4 separate regions of the Homo sapiens genome follow, and regions 2, 3 and 4 are each linked to region 1. The links are contacts of gene promoters, found by promoter capture Hi-C in human tissues and cell types (Jung and others, 2019). All regions are on one chromosome and are shown on one strand. The core of a region is centred on a gene start or on the middle of the fragment in contact, and the rest is flanking DNA. Distances in the headings are between cores, read along the strand shown. Region 1 holds the start of HEPACAM (hepatic and glial cell adhesion molecule). Region 2 overlaps KIRREL3 (kirre like nephrin family adhesion molecule 3). Region 3 overlaps KIRREL3 (kirre like nephrin family adhesion molecule 3). Region 4 overlaps CDON (cell adhesion associated, oncogene regulated).

Region 1 (5,460 bases), core at 1,137-3,636:
CTCACTGTCTCCATACCTTCAGCTCTCATTATTTCTTCAGCTCATTGTCATTTCACCAAAGCCAACAGTAACCTCTTAATTGCCTTATCCAATGGGCTCTTTTGGGTCTTTGTCACATTGGATCTCTTTGACAACTTCAATGGTATTGATCTACTCCTGAAAACTCTCAACTCCCTTGATTTTCTGGACAGCACCACAGGCTTCTAGTCCTTCTGTCTCTCTGGCTGTTCTCTCTTTGTCTCCTTAATGGGCATTTCTTCCTCTGCTTCCTCTACAAATCTTGAGGTTACATGATGTTTCATTTTCATCCCACGTTTTTCCCTTCCTAAGTAATATTATCTATTCTTATTGTTTTAACTCTCACCTATGGGCTAACGGCTGCCAAATACCTCTCTCCAACCCTGACCTCTCTGCCACCCAACTCCAGGCTATGTGACATCTTCACACGGAAGCCTCATAAGTATTTCAATCTAAACATGTATGATACTCATTTTTTTTGTTTAAGGTTTCACACAGCAATCCTCCTTCCCTTCCTAAATCCTCCTACTTCCTACAGGTCACTAGCTCCTGACTTTACCTCTAAAATATTTTCTCAACATGCCTCATTCCTTCTATCTTTATTATAATTTCAGTCCATGTTATTTCTCCTATTTCTCTCTTGATCTATTGCAATAGCTTTTTGACCTGTGTTCCCCTCAAATTCATACGTTGGAGTCCTAACCCCCAAGTACCTCAGAATGTGAACTTATTTGGCAATGGGGTCACTGCAGATCTAATAAGAAGGGATCATACTGGAGTAGGATGGACCTAATCTAGTATGTGTCCTTATAAAAAGGGGAAATGTGGACATAGACATGCAAACACGGGGAATGCCATACCAAGACTGGAGTGATGCTGCCACAAGTCAAGGAATTACCAGAAGCTAGGAGAGAACCCTAAGGCAGAGCCCTCCCTAGAAGCTTCAGAGAGAGCATGGCCCTGCTGACACCTCGATCTCCCACTTCTGGCTTCCACGACTTTGAGATAATGCATTTCTGTTGTTTAAGCCACTCAGTTTGTGGTATTTTGTTATAGGAGCCCTAGAAAATGAATACAAACTTCCTTTCTTATTTTATTTGCCTCCAGTTTCCCCTCGAATGACCCCCTGCAGACTGAGTAAGCTATCTGAAAGGTACATGTAACCCTGACAGTCCCCAAATTAAAAACCGCTCATTCCCTCACCTCTCAATCCCCAGATTACGAGTCTGGTTTACAAAGCTCTTGCCTCACTCAATTCATGCTTTTCTCTCCAGCAGTGATGAACTGCTGGGCTCTGACTAAACACTTGATGTTATTTCAAGCTGTTGACCTTTGCTCATTTCCCAACCCTAACACCCACTTATACTCCTACCTTTTTTCCCCATCTTTTAAAATTCAGTGCACACATTCCTTCTACCAGAAAACCTCCCCCTGATATTCCCACACCCTGTGTCCTACCCTACCAACACCCCCTCCACCAGCACCAGCTTCCTGGATGGGGTAGGTGACCTTTCTCTGATTGCTATGCATTCTCTGCATAATTGACTTATGATAGTTCCTGCAGTTTAGTAAAATGATCTCCACATCTGTTTGCCTCACTAAGTTGTGAATTCCTAGGTGCTCTGTAATTGTGTGTGTGTGTGTGTGTGTATATGTGTATGTACTCATAAATAGGTATATTTAAATAAGATCACTTCTCAAAGGATTGGTAGGGGGCGGTAGAGGAGGTAAGCAGCTATGGAGTGGAGTGAATTATGGATAGGTGGGTATGACTATCCCACATTAGGAGGCTCATTATCTCCAAAGCTTCTTTCATCTGCCTTACTCTTTTACACACAGAGAAGCCAGAGTCGGGGGCTGGGGAGGTATAAAAAGAAAATTTCCCCTACCCCTACCCATCAAGCCCCACCACAATCCCTTGGAAAGAATGCCAGACTGGCCCACGCCAACAAGTCATCCCATACGAAATGGCCCAGTGCCCGCCATCTAATGTACTGAATGCCGTGGGAGCTCCAAAGTCATGCAGCCTTTTGGGGGAAGGGGGTAGGGGCCGCGCGGGAGGCACACAAAATAAAGAAATACGTTCAACGCTAATGCCTGAATTCCCTGACATGTTTCCCACGGCAGCTGAACTCTCCCCCACTCCTGCCCCAAAGGCATTCAGGCCCTCCACTCTCCCCTCCGTCTGCTGTAAAAGCCCCGGGTCCTTTCTTCAGACCCTTTCTTACCCTCTGGCCTCCTACCTGTCTGGATCAGAAGAAGGTAGACAAAAGGAGCAAGGCGCAGGGCCCTGGAGGCTCTGGACAGGGCTCCCCTTTCTCTCTTCATTTTGGGTGGCGTTCTCCAGCTCTAGTGCAGACAATTAGCATGATTTCTCCACTCTGGGCACGTCCCCTTTGTACCACTCGGAGTTTCTCTGCCCGAACACAACCCTGCCAACTTCCCTCTGAATACACAGAGCTCTGTGTATTGCTGGACTTGTTCTTTCCTCTCCCTCAGACCTGGCATTTTCTAGTTTCCAAGCCCTACATCCCCAGTTTGGAAGCAGGTATCTGCTTAGGAGATAATCTCCAACTCAGGTTCCAACATGGGGGGCACCGGCAGCCCAGCAGTTGGTTGCTTGTCTGTGCTGAGCCTCACTACCCAGGGAGATGAGGATCTGGGCTCAGAGCACTGAGCTGGGACACACACTTAACTGGACTTTGTGTCCCAACCTACCCTGTCTCCACCTAACACTCCTTCTCCCTGAGGAGGAGGGTACATGCCAGGACAGACCTCCAATAAGCTCTGAAAAGGGAGGGAGAAGAGATTTTAAAAAGCTGGGAAGTGAAAGACTCCAGACAACTGCTGAAGAAATGGAAAACCCCTGTTCCATCCCAAAGGAAGAAGACTGGAAAACAGCTTGAATTCTATTATTGTTACACTTGTCTTTCCGTGGCTTGGAATTTTCTCTTCTATCATAGAATCACATAGATGCTGGACACCTCTTTCCAGAAGCCACTCTGTTCATTCCCCTGCTTTCAGGCAATTTTCTAGAACATGTCTGAGCAAAATGAAGGTCATCTCCTAACAGCCAGCATCCTAGGGTTCTGTTACCAGCTTAACAGCCTAGCTGTGCCCTCCTGTTTTGAGGCTGTGAAGAGGAGAAACACTCTAGCTCTACTCTGACCCCCATTCATGTGTTCACACCTTTTCATGAGGGCGGCCAAGGGAATGGATGCCTAGTAACTGTGATCTTGGGATGGGCTCGCAACCTCTTTGAGCCTTCAATTTCTCATCTGTAAAATGGGGAAAAGAAGAGCTTCCTTGAGGGGAATTGTTGGGAGCGTTGATGGAGATTTGGTACAGAAGAGTACCTAGCAAATCCTTTGTTACAGAGATGATGTTTTAAACTTTTTAAAAATTGCCTTGTTTCTTTTTTCATTCATGCTGGGATCTTTATATTTTTGGGAGACCAAACTTCACAACTTCCTTCTTGGTCATCCCTAACCCCTGGTCTTGGTTTTGTAAGTGCAGCAATTATCTCTCTAAATATTCTTTTTACATACTGGAGAAAGCCTGAGTAGGTCAACTTTCTAGAACTGAAGCATTATTACATAGCCCTTCTGAGCCTCGGCAGAGGGAGAAGAGTTGGGAAGCACTGAACTTCACAGACCTCTCTGAAAACATTCTGAAATATATAAAGGGGATTCTTTTTTCCTTTTGCATTTCTGTGTTTATGACTTTTCCCTAGACAACTCAAGGCACCTTTCTTCCACTGGAAGAGGTAATGTTATTATAGCAGGTACACAAAAAGAGTCAATATTCAGCTTCTGACATTTAAAATAGCATTTCAAAGTCCATAGCAAGATGAAAGGCTTAGCCAGTCTTTGTAAGGGACAAAAGAGCATTCTAATTTCTTTTATCTACCCCTTGACATATCATAGATCAGCCTGTGGACTGGATCACAGAGTCCTTCTGGAGTGTAGATAAATGGCCTCTTTGCCTGTGATGGCTGGGCCTTGAGGCTTATGGATGGGAGTAAAAGGAGGATGCAGTGTTTGGGAAATAGAAAGCCCGAAGTCTGCCCTTGTTATCCTGAAGCACTGTGGAAAGAAAAATGTGCTAGAGGGAGACTAAAAGGATCTAAGTTCTCAATATCCCCACTTCCCCGCCCCAGAGGTGGCTCTTTATACCTGCACAGAATTTGCAAGGGCTTCTAGGTGTCCAGAAGCCCTTTAGGAGACTCAGAAGTGCCGAGAGGGTAAAGAACTGGCAGGAAACAGAAGATTGAGCAAAGGCACTGCCATGTACGGGGATTCTGAGGCCAGAGGCAACAGCTGGGACCACCTACTGCTGTGGTGGGAGCCTCAGGTAGCTCATCAGGCCAGGAAAAAATGTAGACCCTGAGTAGAGACTGGTGGGAAACCTGAGAATACCACACAGGTCCACAGACACTGTCTCCCCCTGTTGCCACAAGGTTACTTCAGCCACACCATGTATATTTACCCCAACTCTTATTAGAGAGGAGCTGGGATTGGGAGAGGACATTGGAAAGACTGCTTGAGCAATTGCCTGAGCTGTCCAAGCAGAGACTGAGCTACCTAAAGACAGTGTGAAAATGGTTGGATCAGACTGGGCTTACTGAGATGGAGTGATATTTTCCTCTGCTACCCTGGGGGCGGTGAGAGGTTCATGTGGAAGATCACAGCAACTACAAAGACATAAAGGCCTTCCCTTTCCTTTGTACGTTGGAATGTATGAGGAGTAATTTTGCAATCTTGCTTCCAGCGACTGAGTAGGCCTTTAGAAACTTATAATCATCTACTTATGTGCCTTTCTCTCCTAAGAAACAGAGAGCTCTTTGATTTAAGAGCTGTCTTATTTGTCTCTCTGTCTATAGTACCGAATACGGGGCAGGCACATAGTAGGTGCTCAATAGGCAGTTGGCAAATATTGAATGGATAAGCCCTTGCCTTAGTTCCTTTAGAGGGCTTCTCAAGCAGCTGGACAACTGGGGGTTGGGGGAGCAAGCAAGGGAGTGAGGCCACAGTTTGTGGACACATATGAGGCATCCCTTGGGAATTCCCAGAAATAACCGGGGCTCACTTTGAGTGGGGACACTGATCCAATAGGCAATTGATTTACAGAAAGATAAAGTAACAGCCTCACACATGACACAAAGTGTTTATCTCAGCTGTCTTGGCTCGCCTTATGTTATCCTTCCTTGTGTTCTTTGAGTTTTTTCCTCTGGGTGTGTCTGTCTCATGATTGTTGATGATGCTGGCTTTTTTTTTTTTAAGGGATATTCCGACTATTAATGTTACATTTCTTTAATGTCAAAAATATATTTATATTTGTTAGTCCGCATGTCCAATTTTTGGATCAGAAAGTGTGGTTATTGCGGCCATTTCCTCATGAGCCTGCAAGCCTCTCTGGAGCAGGGAACGTAATTCTTCATTC
Region 2 (5,460 bases), core at 1,135-3,634, 1.8 Mb after region 1:
TGGATCTGCAGAAGGTTTTGTGCAGTGCTGATGGGAAGGAGAAATTGTACAGCCACTTTGTCATGATCTCGTAAAGTTGATCATTCAAATGCTCCATCATCCATCAATCCCACTCTTAGGAAGTCAGACAAGGGCAACTCTCTCTCACGTATACCAGCAGACATGTATGAGAACGGTCATTTCAGCACTATTTATATAAAGCAAAACTTGGGGGCAATACAAATGTTCTCTGACAGGAGACTGGATCAATATATTGTGGTGTGCCTATTTAATGGAATAATAAACCTCAGTCAAAATGAATGAACAATAGTCCCATGCAACAATATGAATTAGTTTTAGCAGCAGAATTCAAGTGCAAAAAGTCTCAGAAGAATGCATATTGCATGATACCCTTTGTAGACGGTTAAAATAAATCCAAACTGAAAATTCTTCTTTTTTTAAAAAAAATATATGTAGCAGTAGTAAAACTTTGTTTGAAAAAAGGGAAAGCAAGTCAATGATGAACATAAGATTCGAGAAAGTGCTTAGTTACTTTGGGTAGAGGAAGAGAAAGGATGCATTGAAGATTGATGTTGCTACTCTAGTTTTCTTGTTTGTTTGGTAATTTAAAGAATGTTTATTATAGTACTGAAGAGAAATACATAAATACAGCAATAAAAAATCAAATAACCAGATTTAAAAAAAATGGGAAAAGGACTTGAATAGACATTTCTCCAAAGATGATTTACAAATGGCCAAGAAGCATATGGAAAGATGTTAAACATCACTAATCATCAGAGATTTGCAAATCGAAATGATAGTGAGGTATCACCTCACACCCATTACGATAGCCACTATAGAGAAAAGCCAGAATATAGCAAATGTCGGTAAGAGCGTGGAGAAATTGGGACCCTTGTGCACTGTTGGTGGTGTTGTAAAATGGTGCAACTGCTATGGATAACACAATGAAGGTTCCTTAAAAAATTAAAAATAGGACCACCATCTGATGCAGCAGTTCCACTTCTGAGTAGACATCCAGAAACATTAAAAGCAGGGTGTCGATTCGCACACCCACGTTCACAGCCACACTATTCACAATAAATAGCTAAGAGGTGGAAATAGGCTGGGCACGGTGGTTCAGGCCTGTAATCCTAGCACTTTCGGAAGCCAAGGCAGGAAGATCACTTGAGGTCAGGAGTTCGAGACCAGTCTGGCCAACATGGAGAAACCCTGCGTCTATTAAAAATACAAAAATTAGCTGGGTGTGGTGGCACACACCTGTAGTCTCAGCTCCTCAGGAGGCTGAGGCAGGAGGATCACTTGAACCCATGAGGCGGAGGTTGCAGTGAGCTAAGACTGCACCAATGCACTCCAGCCTGGGTGACAGACCAAGACTCTGTCTCAAAAAAAAAAAAAAAAAAAAAAAAAAAAGGAGGTGGAAACAACCCAAGTATTCATCAATGATGAATGGATAAACAAAATATAGCATATACATACAATGGAATATTCTTCAGCTTTAAAAAGGAAGGAAAACCTTCCATATGCTACAACATAGATGAACCTTGAAGACATTACGCTAAGTGAAACAAGCCAGTCACAAAAGGACAAATATTGTATGACTTCACATCTATGAGGGTCTAACATGGTCAGATTCATAGAAAAAACAGAAAGTAGGATGTTGATTACTAGGGACAGGTGACCCCTCCTTGGATCTACCCGCTTTGCAATGTGACTCTGCAGCTCTTCCCACCAACAGGTGGAGACTGCTTTCCCATCCCTTGGATCTGAGCTGGCCTGGTGACTTGCTTTGGCCCATAGCCTGTGGTGGAAGCGAGGCTGTGCTGGTGCTGAGCCAAGACCTCAAGAAGCTTGCATGCTCCTGCTCACGCCCTTGGAAAACAGACATGTGAGGCCATCCTAGACCAGCCACCCTCTAGGTGACCCTCCAGGTGACTGCAGATAGATGAGTGAGTGCAGTTAAATTCAGCTGTGCTGGGCCAGGCACTGTGGCTCACGCCTGTAATCCCAGTACTTTGGGAGGCGAAGGCAGGCAGACTGCCTGAGATCAGGAGTTTGAGACCAGCCTGGGCAACACAGCGAAACCCTGTCTCCAGTAAAATACAAAAAAAATTAGCCGGGCGTGGTGGCGCGCACCTGTAATCCCAGCTACTCAGGAGGCTGAGGCAGGAGAATTGTTTGAACCTGGGAGGTAGATGTTGCAGTGAGCTGAGATTGCGCCATTGTACTCCAGCCTGGGTGACAGAGTGAGACTCTGTCTCAAACACAAACAAACAAACAAACAAAAAAACAACAAAAAAACTGGCTATCAGGAGATGAAGAATGCATCTGAAAGTCAACAAGGAGAGAAAGAGACTCTGCCGGCATGCCGTAAAAGCGTGCAAGTCATGGCAGGGGAACACATAAGTGTGTTACATCTGTATGCACATGCATGTGAGTGCCTGTGACCACACACACACACACACACACACACCCATAGTCAGAGGAAGCCTCAAATCAGGCTGAGTTTCCGAAGGGAAAATCTCATTTGTCCACCAGTGATAGCGTATGTAGCCTTCTACATTAATGTAAATTGAGGCAGGATTACCTTCTAGTGATAAAGTCGCATCTGGTAGCAGAGAAAAAGTGAGTGGAAACGGACACATTTCCAATCAGGCTCTGGCCTGGGCTGCAGCCCCACTCCGCTGAACACCTAGATACACCTTTTTAAAACCCAGGATCCTTCGGGCTCAGCCTCCTAGTCCTTGCCCCTTCCCCAGATCCCACCCCTGTCTGCCCACCTTGTCTTCTCGGGCCCTCAAAACTTAAGCCAGAAGTCTGGGCAGGCCAGTAGAGGAAGGAGCTGGGGCCCAGGCAGCCACAGGTTGAAGAGGCGGAGGGAAGCGGCACAGCTCACAGTCACACTAGGACAACTTGGAAGTTGAATTGGCAAGTTGCAGCAGGAGATGGGAGCATGGGCTCCATCCCTAAGGGAGCCACATTCGTTTTTTTTCCTTTCAAAGTCGTCAGGCAGTAAAAGAAAATTGCAGGGATGGGGAAATAATGAAAAAGGCTCTTTGTTTTTCCCCCAGTCCGAACTCCTAGCTCATCAAACCTTGGAAATGCTCACTGCAAATGGTTGTTCTTGTTTTATTGCTTATTTATGGGAATCTATTTAAAGTGAATTGCACTTTTCCATTGTATCCTAGTGAGCGTGCACCGGAGTTGTGTCTCCCCTGGCTGTGGGGCTGTCTGGACTGGGGATTCTGTCTGATTGTGTCAGCATCACGCTCCGTGACATTTAAAAGTGGGGAAGGAAAATACTGCAGAGGAAGCAGGGCGAGCGTGGAGAATGATTGCTCAGGCCTCCATCAGCTCCAGGCGGGTGTGGGGAATGCTGTTCTAGGGCAGGTTTGGGGGTGCTGACTAGGCCTTCACACAAAGAGGAATCTGCTCTTGTGGATGAATGAATGGCGGTGACAAATCAAACTTTAATCTGGCTCTGCTGTAAGCATTGTGACCTTAGGGCAGGTACTGACTTCTATGAGCCACCTTTTTTAAAAAAAATTCTCTACAGAGAGGTGAATACTGGGCTGTTGTTAATAATGATGATGGAATTCATTATATATATGAGAGTGCTTACTCAGTATCAGGTAGATGCTCACTAAATGTAAAACTCCCTTATAAGGGTGGCTGGAATGGGGACTGGAAGAGACAGGTAAGTCCCCAACCTATCTTCATTTTCTTAACCTATGCCTTTTGACTCAAAAAGAATGAAGGCTCCCTCACTCCTTTGCTTTGATTGGGAGATGAGATGCGAGTCTCAATGCCTAGAATGCTCTATAGCAGGGGTCAGCAAACTGGCTGAATCGGGCTGCTGTTCTGGTAGCTAAAGCATTATGGGAACCCATCCCTCACCCCCTTCTGTCTGCGAGCCATCTATGACAGCTTTCCTGCTACAGCGGCAGAGCAGGATAGCTATGAAAGAGACCGTGGGGCCCACAAAGCCGAAAGTATTTACTTTTTGGCCCTTTACAGAAAAAGTTTGCCAATCCCTGCTCTAATTCATTGGTATTTTGGGGTTCTCTTATCTGTGTGATCAGAAGGTCTGAGCCTCAGAGAAAGGAAGCAGCAACTTGTCCAAGATCACAAAGTTAGTGTTTGAGTTAGAACTGCAATCAGGTTTCCCAATTCCTGGCCCAGTGCTTTTCCATTGTTTAACTGTACCATTTCACAGAGATCCCAAAGCCATTGGGATTAGCTTTACCAAAAAAAAAAAAAAAAAAAAAAAAAGAGTCTCTAAGTCACGTGGCATCTGAGCTCCATGTGATTGGTAAAGTTGGCATTAGTCCCTGCCACATTTCCCAAGTCCCCACCTTCTCTGCTCACCACACCGCTGTCTCTCCAGGCTCAGCAAATACTTCTAGAGACACCGGTGTGTCCTTGTCCTGAAACCTTTGTGAGTCAGCTGCATTGACTCCTGCTCCAGGATGACGAGGGCCAATTCCTTGATGAAGGGCCATCTGCCTGTGTCTGGCTGCCTGTCTGTGAGCTTTCGTGTCTTGGGGGCTCTGCTGCATTGCAAGAAGGAGCTGGGACAGAGCTCTGAGAGAGGGGAAGGAGGCAGGGAGAGGGAGTTTGATTCCTGAAGAATCTTCCTTTTCCCATGAAGACAAGCAAGCTGATGGCCAGCGTAGAGCCACAGCCTGGAAAACTTTATTTTTAAATTTATTTTTGGTGGGGAAAGAGTTGGGTTAGCTCTAATTTACGGCAACCTCCCCAGTTCCCTGACACTGCTGCCTCCTCATATGCTTTGCTAAGAAAACCTGGATGAGTCGGGCGAGGTGGCTTATGCCTGTAATCCCAGCACTTTGGGAGGCTGAGGCGGGTGGATTACCTGAGGTCAGGAGTTCAAGACCAGCCTGACCAACATGGTGAAACCCCATCTCTACTAAAAATACAAAAAAAATTAGCCTGACATGGTGACACGTGCCTGTAGTCCCAGCTACTTGGGAGGCTGAGGTATGAGAATTGCTTGAACCTGAGTGGCAGAGGTTGCAGTGAGCCAACATCCCGCCACTCCACTCCAGCCTGGGCCACTGAGCGAGACTCTATCTCAATTAAAAAAAAAAAAAAAAGCCTGGATGGCCTAGTGCTTCCTTATTGCTTAATTAACCCTTCTCCCTTTCTTTGACCCTTCTCCTCCTTGGTTGCCTTGTGTGGTTGATGGTGACATCATCCATCCAATTTCTTATCCTGTAACTTCCAAGTTACCCTTAACTCCTGCCTTTGCCCAATCCCCAGCCTTCTATGAGATACCACATGCAGCCTGCAAACTCCCACAGCTGTACGCAGGCATGTGGCCTCTTGCCTCGACATCTGGCCCCACCGTCCAACCCACCTTTCAGCCTCCAGGCAGGTCCTCACCTCTGCCATCCTCCACGTGATCCCCAAACGTTGCTGATCAACACACCACAGCTGGAA
Region 3 (5,460 bases), core at 2,192-4,691, 1.5 Mb after region 1:
CTTGGCTCTGGGGACACACCATGGGCATTGAACCTCCCACCTCCTGCTTCAGAAAGCTTCATGCCTTGCAGGTGAGCTCCAGAAGGAAGTGAGTTATTCATGGTGGGCCACTCACTGTGGGAGCCACCGCCTCCAAGGCCTCCCTCCAGTGTGGTGAGCACTAACGTGCTGCCAGCCCCCGGCTCGCCCAGGTTGCCCATGTGACTGCCATGGTGGCTCCCAAGAGTCCCCGAGGACCCAGCTCCTGTGTGTGCAGATATGGGCCAGGGGCAGGCATATAGATGGCGTGTGTGCAGCATGTGTCCGGGAACGAGCGTGCCAGGGCATACACCCCCGTGGGTATGTGCGCGTACCTGTTTTTGTCTTTGGGTGTTCATGGGCCTCTGTCCACTGACTGCCGTGACTCTGCGGGGCCCCAGGTTCTCTCTGGACGCTGCCTGCTCAGGTGCCGCCTCAGGGCTGTGCACCCACCCCCACTGCCCCTCCCTAAGGGCAGGGATTTGGCACTCACTTCTCTAGTTCCCCAGCACCGGCCTGGGAGGCCGGTCTTCCCAGGTATGGTTGTACACAGTGTACCCCACCCCATGGTTTTCCTGCTTGGGTGGCAGTGGCTGGCCACTCTGCTCTTTCCAAAGCCCCCAGGGCCTCCTCTGGGCAGTGGAGAGCCAGGCTGAGCTCTCGGAAATGGGTGGGCTGGAGGGCAGACAAGGGGTGGGGGCCCAAGCACTGGTGCTAAATATGGGGTGCCCGATGACAGGCAAACCGTCTGGAAAGGCCGAGAGTAGCCTGATTGCCTGGCAGCAAGGCCGCCTCGCTTCTCCCCGCTACTCACCTTCCCCACCTGCTGGGTCCCTTTTTTTTTTTTTTTAAAAAATCATGGCTCTGCTTCCCCTTTTGATAGCTGCTTGGGGCTCCCCATGGGCTGGTTGCCACCTGGCTTGAATAAGGGTGTGTGGGCCAGGTGGAGGATGCGCAGTGCTTTTTGCCCCAGTCCCTGCATCCAGCCTTGAGGCCAGAGGCCAGAGGGGTGCCCTTCACAGAGAAGGCCAGGATGAGCCTCGGCCACACCCAGTGGAGACTCTAGGCCCCTAAGCTGGGCAGATAGGTGCAGGGTGATGGGTGAGTGACCAGGGAGGGGGTGCCCAGTGGAGGGTGAGGGCCCTATGCATGTGGGCACTTATCCCTTTCCTGAGTGGGGTCTCCAGAGCTCCTCTTAGCAAAGGTGGTAAAAGGCGAGGCCAGTGGTCCTGGTGGTAGGGGTAGAGGGCAAGGGGCTCCAAGCAGACACAGACACGACTGTGCGTGCTAAGACCTTGCAACCCTCCTGCCTGGCAGGAAGCTGCACTTAGGAAGGGTTCTTTCTGGGCTCAGCCTGTCCTCTCGCCCCTCCTCTTCCGTAACCCATCCTTCCTCCCCTGCTGTGTGGACTTGGGGGCTTTCCAGAAGAAAGAATGTGGTCTCCACTCTGGCGCCAGGCCCTCAGAAGTATGAGGAACAGGGAAGGAACCCACTGTCCCCAGACAGCCCAGGGTTGAGTCTCCAGGAAGAAGCTTGGAGGGGCCTTTTCCTGCTCTGTGCCTCTGCAGCCGACACCCGCTGGGAGCCTGCAGTGGGCACTGCCCAAGGCCCCATCCGGCAGTGTGGCTCGCCCTGCACCCTGGAGGCTGTGACAGTGGCCTGTTAAGGAGAAGCATGGCCAGCCTGTGCTGGGGGAGGGACTGGGTGCTTCCTCTCCTGCCCTTCCTCCTGGGGAAGGGGCCTGGTGCCCTCCAGGGCTGAGGCTCATCCCTCCCCTACTGGTCCCATGGTGGAGTCACAGAGAGAATGGTCGGTGAGCAACCCAGAAACTTTGAGAACAGGCCTGGTGTTTTATGAAATAGCTGTATGACCCCTGGGGCAGGGAACTGGGGTTCCCCCTGTGGGACAGGAGCCAATAATAGTAGCTCACATTTATCCAGTCCTTACTCCTGCCCTTGACAGGGTGCTTCTGATGCATAATTTCTTGTAAGTCACTCTGCAACCCTAACAGACATCCGTGATCATTATCACTGCATTTTGCAGCTGGGGAAACTGAGGCAGAGGGTGACATCACCATGTTATGTTACGGATCCCAGGTTTGAGCTAGGCCTTCAGAACCATGTGGCCAGCCTAACTATGACACCGATGTCTGCATATGGGAAACGCGAGGTCCATAGTGGGGTGGACCTTGCAGCCGTGTGGATCCAGTGAGGGGGTGACAATCCCAACAGCAGTGCTTGTTGCAAGCTCGCTATGTGCCAGGCGTGTTTCTCATTCAACTCCTCACAAGCACCCCTTAAAGTGGGTGCTGCTGTCGTTCCCATTGTATGGCAAGGACAGGGAGGCACGGCAAGGTGAGGTCACGCAGCTGGAAGGTGGCAGAGCCCGGATCCAAATTCAGGCTGCCAGCTCCTGAGCCCACGGGGATAATCATCCACCATGTGACAGCCACTGAGGGCGTCAGACCCGACAGCAGCCAGGGCTGCCCTGAGGGGTCTTTTCTGGGGTCCTTGGAGGCTGCCTGATTTTGTGTGTGCTCCCAGCTTCTCTTCCTCTCTGCGGCTGATGCTCTGGCCCCTCCTCATATGTAGCCTCTCTGGGGAAGTCAGGAGTGCTGTTGGCCTATGGCAGGGCTCCTTGCAGCCCTGGGGGAGGAGGGGGTGGGCTGGGTCCCTGGGAGGGGAAGCAGAGGGGTTGGCTCGGACAGCCCCCAGAGCCTGCTCCATAGGAGCCCTGGATTGTGTAACCTACTGGGTATACTCCACATCACAGGCTTGTAGCTTCTCCCTGCCCGGCACACAGCCCCGTGCCTGGGGAAGCTCCACTGACGTGTGCGGGCTCTGCTGGTCACCCCTTTGGTCTCCATGAGAACCACTGGCCGTGGGGTGGACAGTTAGGATGGTGGATGACCATGGTTTGGAGGAGAGGCCCAGAGAAATGAAGTGCCTTGCCTTGGGACACAGGGCCTCTTCCCATGCTCATGTCCAGGGACACATTGAGGGTCTCAGGCCTCTGCTGCTCCCTGGACAAGCCACAGAGGGGCAGGAGACCATCTGAGGTGACTGTCCCCTGAGGAATCTGTTTCTCTTCCGGAGCGTCTGATCCAACACCTTCATTTTGCAGACGAGGAAACAGATGCCCAGGGAGTGAGTTGCCTGAGGTTATGCAGTGGAAGCTGGAACCCAGGCCTGCGACTGCCTGGCGCTGCCGTTCCCGTCACAGGCCCAGGAGCATGGATCGGGTCCCCCGCCCTGCTGTGCAGTAGTATGGTACCAGGCTCTCCGAGGGGCCTTCACAATGTAGACAAGGATGACATGTTGAGCTCAAGGTGATCCTGGGACAGGTCCAGCAGAGTGACCCTGACCTCTCTCTCCACCTGATGGCATGTGTCCTCTGCAGGACATTGACTCTGCTAGGGTCCAGGCTGGCCCAAGTTCAGGGAGGGACAGGACAGGTGCTCAGACTGGAAGGAAAGCCCCTATCCTTCCTTTTCATTCTCCTCTGGACAACTCTCTCTCTGTGTTATATCCTTGTATTACATAACAGGACAGGGTGGCTTCAGCCCAGGACATAAGGGAGAGGCTTGTCTTCCAAGAGGCAGCCATCCCTCCCTCCCCCTGGACTTGTGTCTGAGGGAAGGAGTTTGCCCTGGGTTCTGGCACCAGGTGCTGGGTTCTTTGATCGGCAGCCCTGGAGTGACCTCTTGGCAGGTGGTCAGTTTGGGACAGGAAAGACACACCCTCAGAGTGGGGACGGGCCTGCCTCACATCCTCGGATGACCAAGGCCCTGCTTATCTTTCCAGGATTGCTTAGAGGACTGGTGGGTAGGGGGAACCAGGCCGTGTATTTCCCCAGTCTCTGAGGACAAGGAAAACCCTCAGACCTGAGGCGAGCGGGCGTTCTGGAGGCTGGGCCCCCAGCTGCGGAGCTTGGGGGACCGGCTTGCCCTAGGAGGAGCATGGGCAAGGGCAGAGGCCAGGGTGTCAGGAATTGTGGTTCCAGGCCTGGCACTGCCCACTCCACCACTGAGAAGGACAGTCACTTCCCCACCAGGCCTCAATTTTCTAGCTGCAGACAAAAGAGGTTGGCCCAGGTATACTGTAAGGCCTCATTCATCTTAGAGGCTCTGTGGTACATTAACCCCATCTGGGACTCTATGCACAGTTTTGTTGAGTGGAGTTTGGTGGGGGCTGTTTAAAAATGTACCCAGAATTTTGTTTTTATTCAGGTAGAGGGAGGCCAACAGATCAGGAGACAACTGCCGTTGAAAAGACAGTTTGCGGCCGGGCGCAGTGGCTCAGTCCTGTAATCCCAGCACTTTGGGAGGCTGAGGCAGGTGGATCACCTGAGGTCGGGAGTTTGAGACCAGCCTGACCAACATGGAGTAACCCCGTCTCTTTTAAAAATACAAAAAAAGAAAAAAAAATTAGCTGGGCATGATGGCACACGCCTGCAATCCCAGCTATTCTGGAGGCTGAGGCAGGAGAATCACTTGAGCCCAGGAGGTGGAGGTTGCGGTGAGCTGAGATCACGCCATTGCACTCCAGTCTGGGCAACAAGAGTGAAACTCTGTCTCAAAATAAATAAATAAATAAATAAAATAAATAAAAAATAAAAAAAGAAAGAAAAAAAGAAAAGACAGTTTGCTACTCATAGTTCCCAGAGGAAGGGGAGGCCCCAGGGTCAGTTGGGGCTGGGGTGGGAGGTGTGGGGAGAGTGTGGGCACAGCCTCTGTTGTGGCTTGCTTTCATAGGAAGGAATGGTGAGGTAGGGTTGGTGGCTCAGCAGGTTTAGGATTGGATAGCTTGAATAATTTCCCTGGGCCCTGAGCTGTAGGGGTGGTCTGATGTGTGGCCCTGGGGAGATTTAGGGTAGGGGTATAATGTCCTGGACTATGGAGCCTGATGAAAAAAGGCTGTGGGGGCCTGGGCTCTGGATTGGTTGGTCTGCTTTGATATAAAGCCTGCTTGCTATCTCCAGGAATTAGCTTACCCTGGTCCTTCCCTGGGTCTGCAAGGCCCCAGATGTCAAAGCATCATAAAATACACAACATTTTAAAGACACAATTAATACGGGGGCCAGTTCAGGGTGCTTCCAGCCCTTGGTATCGTGTGTGAATTAGAGACCAGAACCCCTGTTGGTAGACACAGCAGGGCAAGGGCTGTTGGGTAAGGGATCATGGGCTGGATTTCAGCCCTCCCTGGCCCCTGAGCCAGGCACCTTGGAGATGGTGGAGCCTAAACGGCTTCACCTGGCAGCCCTGGAAAGTGGCCAGATTTAGCAAATAAAATACAGGATACTCAGTTAAATGTGAATTTCAGATATATAATGACTGTCTTCTTTAGTATAAGTATGGCTTGTGAGTATGTCCAATGCAGTATTTGGAAGATACTTACATTAAAAAGTTATTATTTTTCTGAAACTCAAATTTAACTGGGCATC
Region 4 (5,460 bases), core at 1,313-3,812, 1.0 Mb after region 1:
AGTTTAGTCACTTCCCTTCAAATCTAGTGGGCTCAAAATACATTATATGTTATAGCCTCCATTCATTTTCCCTTTCTTGGCAGTCAGGGAAGAATTTCATGTGATACCAGTTGGAGAAACAGGGTGTAAAACCTGTGTAGATGATGTCACATGATAAACTCATCTTCATTTTCCTGTAATTATTTCAATTAGGTCTGTTCACTTGACAACGCTAAGTTTTAAAGCATGCTATATTTTTCCAGATGGAGTAGATCTTCAGCCAGCAATGACTTGGAGGGGGTGTGTTAATATTTGGATGTTGCTTTTGGCGGAAACTGCCCAGCAATTAAGAAAAATGCCCAGATTAACACATACCTCATTGTAAAATGTTCACTTGACAGACAGCAAGGTTCTTCAAAAATGAAGTTAAAAATTAAACTAGCCTGATAGTCAGAGGCAGAATTCTGCTTTCAGAAGAAAAACAGCAGAACTGAATTTGATAAAAGGTGGGAGAGGCTGTCACACTGCACCCAAACCCAAAGCAGGCCTTCAAGGTTAGGAAAAGTTCAGGCAATTGTTTTTCCTAGAATACTTTCCATTTCCATTCATTTCATAACAGTAGCCAGAATCTAAGCAAACCAAAAGTCCTGAAAATTTCCTTCAGTGTTTCTGATCCAACCAGCAACAGGAATTATTAAGAACATATCGAGAGAAAGAACTCTCCTATACTATATTCCATCTGAGGGAAAACCTGAAAGGCTCAGAAAATGAAGTTCACAACCTGCAGGGTAACGTTGTGACTTACGGATTCTCTGAATCCCTCAACACGTTGAAGTTAGTGCAATGATTTTTAGGGTCACTAACACTGTTAAAATTTCTCTATTTCCCCCACCCAGAAAAGTAAGAAAACGAATAATTTAGAATCACAGATAACTTCTGACATTGTACACCAAATGGGGCACCTATTATTTAAATAGAAATTCATTGTTCAAAAAACCCAAGGTTCCGTGTTCAAACACTAAAGCGAACATGGGCCTTATGTTTTCTTCTTATGGAAACAGTGTGTGCTATTCAAATGTTAATGCTCTCTCCTTCAGTTTTCTTGGACAATGGTAGTAGTTTGGACTAGGAATGGTGACCAAAAAAGCTTAGAAAGTCTGAATACATGCTGTATCTTTCCACACAAAATAGTGAAATCATGATTCTCTTTTAGTAATGAGATGCATTAAAGCAAATTAATATTTCTTCCACAACATACAAAAGCTAGGTCACATAAAAGCTATTCAATTTCTAGCTTTAAAATATGAGTATATATTAGTTTTGTTCTCCAAATAGATTTTAATAAATCTTTAATAAACTGAAGATGGGGGGAAAAAAAACTCTAAGCTTCTTCAAATTGTAGCACATTGTGGGTCATGGTAAATTTATTTGTAATCAGAACAATGACAAAAACTGAATGCTTAATTCCATCAATTAAACAAATTATCTATTTGATCAAAAGTAATATAGATGTGCATCCAAACAATGTCATAAATCAAACTTTCTAGTGCAGAGAACCCCACGTAAGTCTAAAATATGCTAGTCATTCTACTACCATTTCAAAAATTAAACGCTATCAACTAGTTATCTCTGAAATAAGGTTGTCTTAAGGGTTTATCACTCTTTGTGTGGCTAAAGAATACTAACATTGTAAAATGTAAAAAGCTTACCAGCCACAACAACAAAACATATTGGGCAAAACAAACAAAAGAAGCCCATGAAAGGTCAGAAGTCACAACCCGGTGGCCTGCAGAGATGTTTGGCATGGCCTACGTATGTTTTCAAAAATTTGAATTAGGTGCCAGCATGTAAAAATCTGTCAATTTCACTTGGATTTACAGAGGTTTTGAAAAATCAGAAAATTTGGCAACACTGCGCCCTCAGTCCATGACGACTGTAAGTGTCAAACCGCGGCTGCTTCCTGAAGACACTGTCTGTGCTCTCCAGGTGGCCATCGCCTCCAGTGCTACCATCTCACTCCCACAATTTCCTGATCTGCCTGACTCTTTTCGGCATTTGCATTTTCAAGACCCTGCTCTCGATAAATCAAATTTAAAGTATTTGGTATTTCCATTTCATCTAAAGAACAACTTCCAGTCTGTTCACTGCTGGTATTCCACTTTCAGTGTTAAATAATTTTAAAATGAAACTAAACTGATGAACATAACTATTACCTGGCAATAGAAAACAACTTACAAAGACTACTCTGGATCAAAGGGCTGCCAGTGATCCATGCTGTTTCCATTCGAGGAAACTTGTGAGGTTTCTATACTGAACAAAGCCAAGCATGCTGTCCCTGTTCTAGTACTTGGCACCCTGAGGGACAGAGGGGCTTTTATTTATAGTTAGGTCTCTTACATTCACTAGATGATGAGGATGTTCAAAATCCACGTGTGTCCTGGTTAGAGAGTTGCTGTGCCCGGAGTAAAGCCCTCCATTTAGGCTCCCATTCACAATTCCATTGACTGCATTGGGGACCTTATGGTGAAGGTGGGAATAGCCACTGCTGAGACCGCCATTGGTTAGGAAGCCTCCGTGAACATTTCCATTTATCTGACTTGCTCCTGAGAGAGTGGTGTAGTCCACCATCTGCCCGTTCATATCTGATCCTTGGTAGAGATATCCTGGTGGGTCATATTCTGTTAAAAGAGAACAAAAAAGACACACACGCACACACACACACGCACGCACACATGCACATACGCACACACGCATGCACACATGCACATACGCACACACGCACACACGCACACAGTAAGACACTAAAAAGGACAATCTTCTTGCTGAGAAGGTCTTACAGATAAAACCCCTACGAAACTACAAATAGACTAAAATAAAAACATTTTTAAAATGTTCACTTAAAGCCTACTTGTAAGACATGCTTTAATAAAGTTACTGCTATTATTTTCCATAGAGTGTAGAGATAGCTGTGAACTCTGAGTTAATTATGATTCTGTTAACGGGAAGAAAAATCACCTAGGGAGAAATTACTCAAAAGAGAATGAATATATTGGGCAAGCTGAAACTATCAGAGTACTGGCAATACTAGGAAAAAGTGCTTAAACTCCTATATATTATACTTCTAAGTGCTGAAAAAAACTGCATAAAATGACAACAAAAGACTAGCTTTAGGTGGGGTATTTCAAGTAGCAATAAACAACTCTGTTAAGTAAAAGGATGGAGTTGTATATACAGTCACTGATCATTCATATAGCTCCTTAGTCATTACAGCCAATTTGGAAGGTGTGGAGTACCAAAGGCAAAAAGTGATTCTATTTTCTTTTTTTTTTTTTTTTTTTTTTTTTTTTTTGAGATGGAGTTTCGCTCTTGTTGCCCAGGCTGGAGTGCAATGGCGTGATCTTGGCTCACTGCAACCTCTGCCTCCCGGGTTCAAGCAATTCTCCTGCTTCAACCTCCCAAGTAGCTTGTGCGTGCCACCACATCCGGCTAATTCTTTGTATTTTTAGTAGAGACAGGGTTTCACCGTGCTAGCCAGGTTGGTTTCGATCTCCTGACCTCGTGATCCGCCCACCTCGGCTTCCCAAAGTGCTATGATTACAGGCGTGAGCCACTCCGCCCAGCCTTCTATTTTCTTCTATTAAAAGCATACAAATGACTGCCTCAAAACTGATTTCCAGAGGCACATCTACCAGATATATTTAGAAAAAGTAAAGTATCTCTTAGAAACTAGAGTGTCCAAACTGTACAGGATTTGTTGTTGGAGTCTGGATAAATTCTTCGAAGGTAGGAGAGCTTGCCAAGGCTGGATTAGGTGTCCCTCCTTTCCTTAGCTGCCCACATTACTGTGTGCTCTCGCCCAGGTGTGTAGTCTCAGTACACCTGCTTGTGGTCTCACTAAGCTACACACTTTGAGAGGGCAGAGGTGGTGTTTATTTTATTTACCATTACATCTCCACTGTCCAGAACAGTGCCTGGTATACAGAAGACGATGATTATCTTTTGAATAAATGACTGAATGAACACCACCATGAGAATTTTCCATTTTTAAACATTATCAGGTCACAAAGTAGGATGACTTTAATCTGATTAATATGGCTGGGACGACCAGATTAATGTTCTCTTTTAATGATTCAACACGCACTCACACAATTAAAGGCAATGGCATTAAAACCATTTAGAAAATCAAATGATCACCATCCCTTTCAGATTAATACTTCTCTTTTCATGATTCAACACGCACTCACACAATTAAAGGCGATGGCATTAAAACCACTTAGAAAATCAAATGATCACCATCCATTTCAGCCTGATGCAGCCACCATCTCTCCCCCTATCTCTTGGAAGGCATCATTCAATACAAACAGAGTACTTTCTTCCCCCAGAACTGGTAACTAAAAGGGGAGCATGCGTGAGAACTGGCTAACAGCCACTGGAAGTGCCTGCTGGGGTCCTCCCTCACTTTTCTTTCATTTCCTTATTCTGGAGCCAAAGGGGAAACCAAAAAACTTCCTCCCACCAAAGACTAAACTCTCTGCTTGATTTGATTACCCTATTTTATAATAGCTGAGATAACAGGAAAAGTAGGACAGTGAGGTGAAGAGAACTGAAGGAAGAGAAAAGAGAAAGGGGGTTCTAGGTTACTTCACTGTTATTTCAAAGCAGGGCCATCATCGATGTTCAAGCACACGTATTCCTAGACACACTCCAGGGAGAGGACGCCATGCTGGAGCAGTCTTGAGTCCATCAGGTACAGAAACAGGGCTGCGTTATCCTCATCGGTGAAGTGTCATTCAGTGACAGTGACTTAGACAAGTTTTCACTACCTGCTTTCCATCATGGCTTTTCTATTCCCTGTTGACAAGCTCTGTACCAGTGTAAAGGTGTTCCTACAGCAATTCCAGAGCTCAGGCTTCAAATATGCGTCCTCTTTGGTGGTCCAACAAAGCCGGAGTTTCCCAGCAATAAGTCAGCTATTTACTTAGAGACCTGCTTAGTTTTGGCTTTGGTGTTTATGTCTGCTGGGCAATTTAATTTGATGCTCCACTTACTCTGGCTGACAGCTAGAACAGTTTTAAAGTCATCTCCTCTGAATGAAGAGTATCTAATGTGTTTCATACCATGACACTAATATACAACAGTGTTAGAAATCAATATTTATTCTGACAATATTTGTCTACCCACCTTTAGAAAAAGAGAAGGAGATATTTATGAGTGACTTACTTTGTATGGTATTCTGCTGGCGATTCTTCCACAGGCACATTGCAATGAAAACCATCAGAATGAGGACCATGACGCCCAGCACACAGCCAACGATCAGATATAACATGTCACTGCTTCTGGCAGGGCTGGTTGCAGGCCCCACATTTCCTCCACTTCCCAAAGAATTTGGAGGGGTACTCAAGTCTTTGACAGGATATTCAGAAGCTCCAGGAACACGTTTCACTAGTTGAAATATAAAGGAAAACATGATGTCAGAGTGAA

Evidence for each region. The method cuts DNA at HindIII sites, captures the fragments that hold promoters and counts their contacts. A contact is called where the count stands out against the background at its distance.
Region 2: a contact is called between a fragment that was not itself captured here and the fragment with the promoter of HEPACAM in region 1, in 1 of the 25 tissues and cell types used here (psoas muscle).
Region 3: a contact is called between a fragment that was not itself captured here and the fragment with the promoter of HEPACAM in region 1, in 1 of the 25 tissues and cell types used here (hippocampus).
Region 4: a fragment that was not itself captured here is called in contact with the fragment with the promoter of HEPACAM in region 1 in 1 of the 25 tissues and cell types used here (H1 embryonic stem cells).

The regions. Positions count from the first base shown.
Region 1 is chr11:124,933,661-124,939,120 of GRCh38, forward strand. It overlaps HEPACAM (hepatic and glial cell adhesion molecule), which reads right to left and starts at 2,387. Exons shown (of 7, transcript NM_152722.5): 1 at 2,262-2,387. The coding sequence starts at 2,346. All of the region lies in intron 1 of LOC107984406 (a long non-coding RNA gene), which reads left to right. The HindIII fragment of the contact is 7,366 bases long and covers 1,392-5,460 here.
Region 2 is chr11:126,691,163-126,696,622 of GRCh38, forward strand. The region is part of intron 1 of KIRREL3 (kirre like nephrin family adhesion molecule 3); the gene reads right to left. Among named protein-coding and RNA genes, the nearest start is that of KIRREL3-AS4, 41 kb to the left of the region's middle. The HindIII fragment of the contact is 3,345 bases long and covers 713-4,057 here.
Region 3 is chr11:126,466,777-126,472,236 of GRCh38, forward strand. All of the region lies in intron 5 of KIRREL3 (kirre like nephrin family adhesion molecule 3), which reads right to left. Among named protein-coding and RNA genes, the nearest start is that of KIRREL3-AS1, 74 kb to the right of the region's middle. RefSeq lists enhancers at 1-67, 68-615. The HindIII fragment of the contact is 5,277 bases long and covers 804-5,460 here.
Region 4 is chr11:125,978,673-125,984,132 of GRCh38, forward strand. CDON (cell adhesion associated, oncogene regulated) reads right to left here. Exons shown (of 20, transcript NM_001378964.1): 16 at 5,200-5,421; 17 at 2,377-2,657. Among named protein-coding and RNA genes, the nearest start is that of VSIG10L2, 35 kb to the left of the region's middle. The HindIII fragment of the contact is 5,028 bases long and covers 49-5,076 here.